2 separate regions of the Homo sapiens genome follow, and region 2 is linked to region 1. The links are contacts of gene promoters, found by promoter capture Hi-C in human tissues and cell types (Jung and others, 2019). All regions are on one chromosome and are shown on one strand. Each heading gives the region's core, a stretch centred on a gene start or on the middle of the fragment in contact. The rest is flanking DNA. Distances are from core to core; before and after follow the strand shown.

Region 1 (5,645 bases), core at 3,143-5,642:
GAAGCACCCTCATCAATCCATCCATTTCTTCAAGAAATATTTTATATGTTGACTTCATTTGAGTTTACCCAAAGGCAGTTTGAGTCAAGAGCTTAGATGCAGGTAGTTGACCTGGGAGGTGATTCCCAGAAGCAGGAGAGAGAGAGAGAGAGAGAACCGAGAAAGATCGGAGGACCAACCCAAGGGGGCATTACTGAGCTGATCACCACTAAGGGTCACTGAGGCTCACTTCTACTGAGGACTCAGAATTGGTCCTCTGGGGACAGAAGGCTGAGGTATATATCCCCAGTTAATTAAGGGTTGCTGTGAAGGAGGTTCACTGTGCATTGGTTACCAACATGTCTGTGTCCAGTGAGAGAGAACGCATTCATACTCAATAAGTTATATGAAGCAAATTTATTACTTACAGACAGGCAGCAAGGGACAAGAGGAGCATTCATTGCAAGCTGGTTGCCTGAGGCTCAGGAAATCTGCTCAGGGCAAATGGAGTCTCAACTGGGCATGCCCCACTTGCACCACAGACGAGGAATGCCAGAGAGCAGCCTGCCCTGGGTTTAACATCCCAGGGTAATGTGATTTGCTGGGCAGTGTTGAAGGACATCCTATTTTCAGCAGGAGACTGGAACTGACCTTGGGCTGTTCAGCCAGTTCTCCCTTATCTCAAGATGCTGCAATCCTAGCACATTCTGCAGTTATTCCTGAGAACTACATGGTAAAAAGGGGACTGGGTCTGTCCAAGGCCACCCAAACTGCCCTGCAGTTGCCCCGGGGATGTTAAATTTCCCTGAATTCCAGGCTGCGCCTGCTCCCAAGGCTTCCGGAGAAAGTCGTAAGATAAGCCCTAAAGAGGACAGCAACGAGATGCTTGAGGTGGCAGCATTCAGGGGAACTCTCCACAACAATCAGAGAGCTGACGGCAGAGGCAGGCAAGGGACATTAGCACCAATAATGTATGCTACAGGCACCTACCATGTTCTAGACAGAGTGCCAGACATGCAGCAGTGAGCAGGACAGACCAACTTATTTGTTCTCATGGAGCTTCATTTCAGTAGTGGAACAAAGAATTTACCAATAAACAAGTCAGCAAACAAGTAATGACGGGTGTTGTGTCTTTGCAAAAATTATGACAATAAGAAAAATATGACATAGGAAAATTACAACAGTGAAAGAAAGCTGGCCTAACCGACTCCATCTTCTAACCTCCAATCTGCCTTTGCACATTCCTGGGCATAGGCCAAACAAATCTGTGGAGAAACTTAGTTTATAATTTCACTTTAAACCAAATATAACAGCCCCCCCCTGAAACAAACCTCCTTCTTGCTTGGGGACCAGACCACCTTTGTGAAACTAACAAATTAGCCACAAGATTAAAATTTATGGGCCGGGCGCGATGGCTCACACCTGTAATCCCAGCACTTTGGGAGGCCAGGGTGGGCAGATCACCTGAGGTCAGTAGTTCAAGACCAGCCTGGCCAACATGGTGAAACCCTGTCTCTACTAAAAATATAAAAATTAGCCGGGCGTGGTGGCAGGTGCCTGTAATCCCAGCTACTCAGGAGGCTGAGGCAGGATAATTGCTTGAACCCGGGAGGCAGAGGTTGCAGCGAGCCGAGATCACACCATTGCACTCCAGCCTGGGGGACAAGAGCAAGACTTCATCTCAAAAAAAAAAAAAAAAAAAAATTATGGCTTAGGAGTCATGCAGCCCGAAGCCACAAGATTCCTAACCTCCATAATTGCTCCAATAGATAATATTACTATTATATAACATAAGATTGGTGTTCAAGGTATTTTTCAGACCCCACATTGTGATGGACTAGCCACCCAGACTGGTAAACTGGCTATCTCGTCTTGTGACCCCAACCCAGGAACTAACCCAGAGCAAGACGAAAGCTTCATCTCTTCAGGATTTCATCCCTAACCCAACCAATCAGCACTCACCATTCCCTAGCCCCCTGACTGCTAAACTATCTTTTAAAAACCCTAGCCTCCAGACTGGCACAATCCCAGCACTTTGGGAGGCCAAGGAGGGCAAATCACTTGAGAGCAGGAGTTCGAGACCAGCCTGGCCAACACGGTGAAACCCCGTCTCTACTAAAAATACAAATAATTAGCTGGGCATGGTGGTGTGCGCTTGTAATCCCAGCTACTTGTAAGGCTGAGGCATGAGAATCGCTTGAACAGGAGGTGGAGGTTGCAGTAAGCCTAGACTGCACCACTGCACTCCAGCCTGGACAACAAAGCAAGACACTGTCTCAAAAACAAACCCCCCCCAAAAAATTCCTTAGACTCCGAATTTGAGGAGAGGCTGATTTGAGGAGTAATAAGCCTCTGCTCTCCTGGTTAGCCAGCTCTATGTGTATCGAACTCTTTATTGCAATTCCCATCTTGAAAAATTGGCTCTATCTGGGCGACAGGCAAGAAGAAGCTGTTGGGTGGTTACAGTGTGATGAGTGCTATGAAGGAAATAACATAAAAGGTGACAGAGAATAACTAGAGGAGGCCATTCTAGATAAAATGGTCTGAGGAGGTGACATTTGAGCTGAGTATTAAACATTGAGAAACAATCTACGAAGGGAAGATGTGGTGCAAGACCTTTCCAAGCAGTGTATAATACACACAAAAGCCCATGCCAGCAAAAAGATTTTACTTTCACAAATTCTAGAAACTCTAAGAGTAAAAAGTGGTGAAAAGAAAGGAAGTGATAACACATGTTGCCAAGTGCAGCAGGCAGAAACAGGGCCATCACCACTTCACGACAGGATCTCAAAATACTAGGAAGTGTAAATTAAAACCATGAGATATAGTTTTGTCATTATTGGATTGGGAAAGATCCAAAAGTTTGGAAAGACCCCACTGGTGAAGATGTGTGGAAACCCACAGTCTTACACATTATTTGCCAGAGTGTAAATTAGTACAGTGTCTAAGGGGGGCAATTTAGCCACGTTTGGCTAATATATTATTTTAAAGGACATATCCCACCATAGCCAATTCCACCTCTAAGAATATTTCTGACAGATATACCCACATGCATGCACAAAGACAATCCACGGGATCCAGTCACATTATTCCTAACCCAAAGCAACTGGGAAACACTTCAAGGTCCATCAGTGAAGGCCCGCATAGGCTAACCTCTGTAATAACCAAATCTCAGTGGCAGTGTCCAACCAGGTGCTTGTGGGCGACCTTCCAACAGGCACCGCATTGCCCGGCTGCCAGGCCGGGCCTGTGTACTGTCCCCGCATCCCATACAGCTAGCACTTATTCACCCTCAAAAGCGTCCCATCCTGAAAATAAACTCTTGCCCACTTGGTGCTTCAGGAACCTGGGCTTCTTCCACTAATAGCTCTCCCAGATGCCCCAGTGCGCAGGTGGGGCCGTCCTCTAGGACCAGGCCTGGCTGGGGCGCACCCACACCTCCTTGGCCAGACGCCATGGGCCGGGAAGGGGCTCTGGCCCTTGCGGGAATGAGGGCGCCTAGCATAGGTGTGCAAGTGGGCAGCCCCCACCGTGGGGTCCTTAAGTAAGCTGGAGCCTGTGAGCCAGGACAGTCAGGAGTTGCAACCTTGGTGATTTCTAGGAAGACAGAAAATGGGGTCAAGGGCCGGGTGTGGTGGCTTATGCCTATAGACCCAGCACTTTGGGAGGCCGAGGCAGGCGGATCACCTTAGGTCAGGAGTTCGAGACCAGCCTGACCAACAGGGCGAAACCTCGTCACTACTAAAGGTACAAAAATTAGCCAGGCGTGGTGGCGCACACCTGTAATCCCAGCTACTCAGGAAGCTGAGGCAACAGAATCGCTTGAACCCGGGAGGCAGAGGTTGCAGTGAGCTGAGACCACATCACTGCACTCCAGCCTGGGTGAGAACCTGTTAAAAAAAAAAATAAGAAAATGGGGTCAAGAAACGGTGGGAGGAGGGCAGATTTCATGAACCTGCCTGCTATGATGTGGCTGCATTTCCATCATGCATTGTCCTAAAAAAAGAAAAAGAAAAAAATAAAATGTAGACGTGGAGGGATGGGGGAAATTGCACAGGCCGGTCCAGGCTGTGAGGCTGCCCCCTACCAGGGACGACGAGGGCCAGCTCCGCCGCGCCGTAAGGAAACTGGCCAAGGGAACCCCTTGAATCTGGCGAGGGCCCGCCATGAGACGCTCGGGGAACCAGACTGCCGAGCCCCCCTCTCTGGGCCGACGCCAGCCCGGCTGTGGACTGGAGAAAACCGCAAGGCCACCTGCAGAAAGAAAAGAAGGCCATCGCGCCTACGCAGCTGAGCACCCATACTCCGCCCGCGCCTGCGCAACTGGGTCCCCCGACCCCCACCTCCTCTCCCGCCTGCGCATGCGCGGCTGGGTGCGCCCCCCCGCCCAGCCTGTGACGCCACGTGCATGGGGCGGAGCCCAGGCCCTAGGGAATCGTGGGGTCGTATCCCGCGGGTGGAGGCCGGGGTGGCGCCGGCCGGGGCGGGGGAGCCCAAAAGACCGGCTGCCGCCTGCTCCCCGGAAAAGGGCACTCGTCTCCGTGGGTGTGGCGGAGCGCGCGGTGCATGGTAAGCGGCGGGCCGGGGCGCTGGCGGGGGCGGCCGGGGATCACCGACTGTAGGCGGGCCTCCCCCACGCGGGCGCGCTGCGCTCCGGAGGACGGCCTCGGGGTCACTCGCACCCCGGGTCCCACCTCCTGCTGCCTTCCTGTCCAGGCTCCATTAGGGCTCCCTGGATGTCTGGGCTCCGCTGACCGGTGGGGGGCAAGTCCAGTGTTTTGGGCCACAGGGCGGGCCAAATAGCAGGGGCCTGTAGCCCCAGGGGGCCCCAGCCCTGCTGCGTTCATTCATTCAGCCCGCTTTTGCGGACCCGCCCCCAGTCTGCGTCAGGGACAGACCCCTCCGCCCTGGATGAGCCCGGCGGGGAAGCTTCGCGTAGCAGTTTCTGGGAAACAGGTAGGATCAGGCCGCTCGGACAGGACTGAGGGTGTAAGGACGATTCACCCTGGCATTGGGGTGGTGTCCCGAGGAGCTCATAGGTGGTCAGGGCGGTTCTGCCCGAGCTGACCTGTGAGCCGCGAATGCCCTGGACCGAGGGAGGGAGAGCCCCCTAGGTGGACAGACTAGACTCCTTCAGTGGAAAACATTCAACAGCCAGGAGAGCGTGGAAGAGGAAGGAGAGATGGGAGGGCCCAGGGGAGCGTGGAAGGGAGGGTGTTTTTATTATAAGTGCACCTGTAAGTGCAAAGTGCAAAGGAAGCAGCCGCCGGGAAGTGCCTGGGCAGCTCTGGGTGTCCCTCCAGGCACCTGTATTCCAGCCTTACCTGCGCGAAGCCACACATCCCACGTCACACAGGATACGGGGAAGTCAGCCATAGCCTGCAGGCGGGGAATCTGAAACCTCGCGCAGGAGTTCCTTGGGAGAGGTGGATTACAAGGACTCTTCCTCCCACCCGCTGTGCAAGAGCCATGGGCGGCCGGTAGTCATTTTTGAAGGACCTGGCAAGCACTGTACAAATCTCAAAATTGCTTTTTGTCCCCCTCCCCTTGCCTTGGAGAGAGTGGCTGGCTAGTGTGTGTGTCGTCTGCCTCCTGAAGGTTCGGGTAAAGGACCAGGGAGGTGGGCAGCCCTTTGTGTCAGGAGATCTGGAAGCGCCTCCCCTCCC
Region 2 (5,645 bases), core at 1,136-3,635, 1.2 Mb before region 1:
TGGACTCCTGGCCTCAAGCAATCCTCCTGCCTTGGCCACCCAAAATGCTGAGATTACAGGTGTGAGCCATTGCACCTGGCACATCTTTCTTGATTTGAATAAGGAATTATAGGTTGAACAATTAAACCAGAATGTAAATGTAATAAACCATTTGAGAAAATAAAGTGAAACATAATACTCTTAATATTTATTCCAATATAATAAAATAACAAATATGGCAGGGATTACAATAAAGGTAAGTAGGCTGGGCTCTGTGAAAAAAGATGTATACTTTCTAGCTGCATTAAAACTCAGTATCCACGTATGTGCTTACATTCTAGAACAGTTTAATGAATAAAACATTTAAAATTTAGCTTGTATATCAAGAAACAAAACGACAACATAGATGGCAACATGGTTTTCAAAGAAGTAAAATTCAAGGAGGAAAACAAATAGGTTGACTGAGAAAATATTATAAGGGACATAAACATTCATAAACATTAATATACTGATTAATATTGCATGAAAATATATAAAGCAAAAATTATCCAAATAAAATGAGAAATTGAGAGATGATCTTTACAGGATTTAGGAATGTAGCTCTCTGAGCCCTTGATAAGCCCAGCAAACATGTGACAAAAAACGTCGTAGAGAATTAAAGTCGGATTGAAGTAATTATTACCTTTTTGTGTTGGAAACACACTTTTAAAAATGTTTATAAAACATTTACAAAAATCATCAGAATTTCTACAAATTTTTAAATGGGAAACACTTGTCATACTCCCATAAAGCTACAGTAAAACAAGAAATGAATATGAAAAATTCTGCAAAAATTAACCAGATATCTAAAAATACTTGTATAAAATTATTGGATCAAAGGAGAAATGAAATTTCAATTTTAAGTTATTAGAATACTATATATCTTAAAATTGAATTAAACATGCAAAAAGTACAAATTTACAGACAAAATAAATAATGAACAAGTTATATAACAAAATAAGTTTAAAATAAAAAAGTAATTCTTGGGAAGCAAAAAAAGAAAATAATAATGAATAATAAATTAATTCATTAGATTTTCATAATCTAGTTCTGTGGTGAAGCTGTTGGCAAATCTCAAGGAAAGATAAAAATAACAACCAAAAAATAACCCAATGTGAGAAATGATGATATTAACAGAGAATAAATTCCATAATCTGTATCCTAGTAAATGATGAAAACTTCTGGAAAGACTGATTTGAAGCTGATTCTTGACTTCCATGTCCTATGGGATTTCTTGGAGAGAGAGAGTAAGTGTGAGGCTTTGTCCTTGACAGACAGGAGAGCCTGTGGGGCTGCGGGAGAACTTAAGGCTTATATATTGCTGTGTAGCAAAGCACACCCACTTAGTGACTTCAAGCAATGGCCATTTGATTTGCTTATGATTCTGCAGTCTGGGCTGGGTCAGCTGGGCAGTTCTCCTGATCTCACACTGGTCAAGCTGACAGGTCATCTGGGCTGGGCTCAGCTGGGATGCTGCAACAGCCTCTGTCTTTCTCTCCACTAGTTGCACAGTCTTGCTCTCTCCAAGGGGTCTGTCCATCATGGTACCTGAGCCTTGGGGTTTCCCAAAGCAGAAAAGCGGAAGCTGCTGGCTCTTTTTTAAGCTTAAGCCTAGAACGGGTACAGCATCACTTCCTCCGTATTTAATTGGGTAAAGCTTTTACAAGATCATCCCAGACTTGAGCAGGGCGAACCACCTGAGGGTATGAACACCTGAGGGCATGGTTCTTGGGGAGTCATGCATGTAATTGAAAGACACAGCTATTCTGGGGGCTGTGAAGGTTATTTATACCCCAGTGTGGCTTGACCAGCCGAAGTCTATGAGTCTCTCCAGGAAAGAGCTGCAGTGTGCAGGTGCAGTTCGAGCTTTCTGGTCTTGATGACCCTGGAGAAAGAGAAAATTGATGTTGGGTTGGATTGTGTGCAGCTTCTCTGGTTGGGTGAAGACTGTGTTTGGCATTTTGAAGCAGAAAAACGTCCTTTCCATGTTCCAAAATGAAGGTGATGATTTGCCAGCCCACTCCCTGCACATCCTCAGGGAGCAGGAGTCATACATCTTCCCTTGCTGTTGAAGTCATCCTGCCCCAGACGCCCTAAAAGCCTGATGGGTCTGGATGAGGAGAGGACACACCAGGAGGAGCAGGCAAAGAAAAGTTTCAGCTCCTCCGGAGCCCTTGAGTACGTGCAGAGCAAGGAAGTCCAAAGCAAGTAATGTAACACTCAGCTCCCCCTGAACTGGTGAGAGAGCTACATGAGAACTTAACAAAAACCACAAATGACAAGCCCTAGGAGACGTAGCTAGAACACAAAATACTCTCAGGATCTATAGACAGAAGAATGGATTTTTCAATTAAATGAAAATGTTTAACAGATGAAGTGAGAGATGGTCACAGCGGATAACTGATATACAGATGTGGGGGACCAGGTAGACATTCTGCAATCCTGTGAACACACGCACACACATGCACACTCACACACATGCACACACGCACACTCACACACACATGCACACACACATGCACACTGACACACATCCACGCACACACACATTCACACACATGCACACACGCACACACACATGTACACACATGCACACACACATGCATACACATGCACACAAGCACACTCACACATACATACACATGCACACGTACACACACCCACACACGCATGTGCAAACACATATGCACACACGCACACACACATACACGCACACGTATGCACACAGACGCACACCCACGCACACTCACACGTGCACACACACGCACACACATGCACACACACAGAGACACAAAAGCCACAAGGCAATATAAAGAGACCTGAAGAACAAATCCAGGATACCCAATATGTGAATAACAGACCTTCAAAATGGTAAACAAAAAAGAACCAGTAGAAGAAAAGTCACACTCGAAAATTAAGTGTATGTGATGAGAGGCCAGAATGATTATCCCGGTGGGTCTCACAGTGGAAGCAAGTGTGAGAAAAACAGTCTGTAACTTCGCTTTGGACATACTCATATTACAAAAGTGTGGCCCCTAAGAGGATATGCTACTGTCCCGTGGGATGCCAAGCCTTTTGCTCTGTCAGGGTGCAGATTTCAGGTGACATATATTAGCTTAATGCACTGAAAGAAACCAAAATATTCTCCCCTACCTACTGAGGATTATGGAGCTTAAGAAGATTCAGATGCAGGGAGACTCCGCCCTGCCTCTGCTTGCCAGGTAGCAGGACAGCAATTTACAAAACCAAGGTATTCTTCCTTCCTCTCTGTCATTCCCACCTAAAGACAGGCCCCTTTCCAACACTTGCTTATAAGCTCAGAGACAGCCACGCCAGAGAATCTAGGAGCTGGCTTTACTCTTCCCACAATTACTTTCCCATGTATCTCACTTTTTTTAAGCCTGAAGATGCTCTTTTCTTTGTCTTGTCACTAAATAGGATTTATGGCTCTTTGTTAAAATAATTTTTTTTTAAGTGGAGTCTCTGTTGCCAAGGCTGGAGTGTAGTGGCACAATCCCGGCTCACTGCAACCTCTGCCTCCCAGGTTCAAGCGGTTCTCCTGCCTCAGCCTCCTGAGTAGCTGGGATTACAGATGCCTGCCACCACGCCTGGCTAATTTTTCTGTTTTTAGTAGAGACAGGGTTTCACTATGTTGGCTAGGCTGGTCTTGAACTCCTGACCTCAAGTGATCTGTCCGCCTCGGCCTCCCAAAATGCTGGGATTACAGGCGTGAGCCACTGCACCCGGCCAATACTTTTTAAGTATTGGCCCCTAAGCCACTGCCTTGAGAGAGAAATAATTTTGAACTGAAGCCTTTCCCAGGTGATGGGTACAGCAAGTGTTAATAAACTCCTGCTGGGTTTTCTCTTGTTAATCTGACTTTTGTTTTCAAGCAAGTCTAAACTAAGAATCTATAAGGGAAAGAAAAGAAATTACATTTCCTCACCTATAGCACTGAAGGAACCCAGGGAACTTCACCCAAAAATATGGCTCCCTAGTATAGTGAGTATTTTGAATTGAAAATCCTTAGAGATCAACAGAGGCCAAGAGAGTTTTCCCTTATCTGCATAAAGACCGACCCCCAAGGAGAACAGTTGCTTTCCTTCTCCTCCCTGTTATCTCCTTATCCACTGCAGAAAAGAATCCCGAGGAATACCGCCTCGCCTGAGCAGGCCCTTTGGCCCTCTAAGTATGCCATCCGTCCCCTTGACAACCAGGCCCCCTCCTGAGGCGGTCCGGGGTCAATCACCACATTCGCATAGAAACAGACACTTGTCACTTTGGAGACTCCAAGCTTTTTAGGAGCTGTGTGCCAGGGAGCAGGACAAAAACCAAATATATATTTCTTATCATAAATCACAATGTCATACTACCGTCTATTCATCCCTCCCCTCGGGACAGATAAGCTTGTCAGTTATCCTTTGGGTGGCTTACAGAAACATCTAACCCCACAGGGATGTTCTAAGAGGCTGACACATAAGAAAGGTAGAGGACATCCATCAGCTGTGCCTACTTAGGGCTCAAGCAGACCTGGTTATATTGCAGTCATTTCTGTCAACAAGAGCCTCCTGTGGCCCTGATGCTACGTAGCCTTAAAAATACTCTCCCCTGGAAGTAGACCCCTTTACCAGCCCCAGCAGACCAAAGCAAAATGAAGTCACTCATGCTAAAGTTCCATGTCACCAAACCAAAACTAAGCTACTTGACCTTCTGAGAAATCAGGAGAGAGAAATATAACCAAAGAGGCCAGCTTTAGCTGGCACAATAAGGAAGTCTGTCCTGCGTTAACTCTCACAAAGAAGTAACCTAATGCTATTAATTGATCAGTTATTTTTCTATGGTTTTGTTTCCTTGTTTTCCCCTTAGAAAACTCACTGTTCTGCTACTGGTTGGTGGAAGCTTTCAAGCTTTCATTTTATTTTGTAGGATGGAGGCTGCCCTGATTCACGAATCACACATAAAAGCCAATTAAGATCTTTAAATTTGTTGTGATTTTGTCTTTTGACACAACTGTGGTTATTTATTCTGCTCATGAATTTGAAGATTGCAGGGCTTGGTGGAGAGAGCTTGCCTTGCTCTCTGGGGCACCCTCTGGGGCAGACCCCTGGAGGGTAGAGGACCTGCTTCGGAGATGTCTTACTCTGGGGCTGAAGTGTGGTTCCAGTCGTTGTCGGGGAGGGCAGCAAGGGCGGTGGGCCCCAGGTTTTGGTTTCTCTCCACACGGGGCCTTCTCCAAGGTCTGCCTGGGCTTTCTTACAGCACGGTGTCTGGTTCTAGGAGTAACGTCCCAGGAGAACAAAGAGGAAGAACCTAGAATTTCCATGATCTGGTCTCAGGAGTCACAGGGCTTCACTTTGCTCTACTCTGTGTTGAGGCAGTCAAAGAGGTCTACTCTGATTCAGAGGGGGGGACACAGCCCTGATATCTTGGTGTCACAGATGACCTGTCACTGTGTAAGGAGATTGTGGGGGATGAGAGATATTGATGGCGCCATCTTTGGAAAATCCAATCTGCCAAAACTCTCCTGGGAAGTGATGACTTCCAAAACTCTCCTGGGAAGTGATGACTTCCTTCCCAGCCTGGGGGCTGGAGGTCGGGCAGCCTAGAAGGATCTGGGCTGTTCACCT

Evidence for each region. Contacts are between HindIII fragments. The study calls those that stand out against the background at their distance.
Region 2: a contact is called between a fragment that was not itself captured here and the fragment with the promoter of ENTPD6 in region 1, in 1 of the 25 tissues and cell types used here (spleen).

Annotation. Positions count from the first base shown.
Region 1 is chr20:25,191,320-25,196,964 of GRCh38, forward strand. ENTPD6 (ectonucleoside triphosphate diphosphohydrolase 6) reads left to right here and starts at 4,393. Exons shown (of 15, transcript NM_001247.5): 1 at 4,393-4,548. LOC101926889 (a long non-coding RNA gene) reads right to left here and starts at 5,573. Exons shown (of 6, transcript NR_109994.1): 1 at 5,304-5,573. RefSeq lists enhancers at 3,849-4,088, 4,939-5,008, 5,389-5,538 and a silencer at 4,229-4,648. The HindIII fragment of the contact is 8,888 bases long and covers 1-5,645 here.
Region 2 is chr20:24,000,473-24,006,117 of GRCh38, forward strand. No RefSeq gene overlaps it. Among named protein-coding and RNA genes, the nearest start is that of GGTLC1, 15 kb to the left of the region's middle. The HindIII fragment of the contact is 3,965 bases long and covers 404-4,368 here.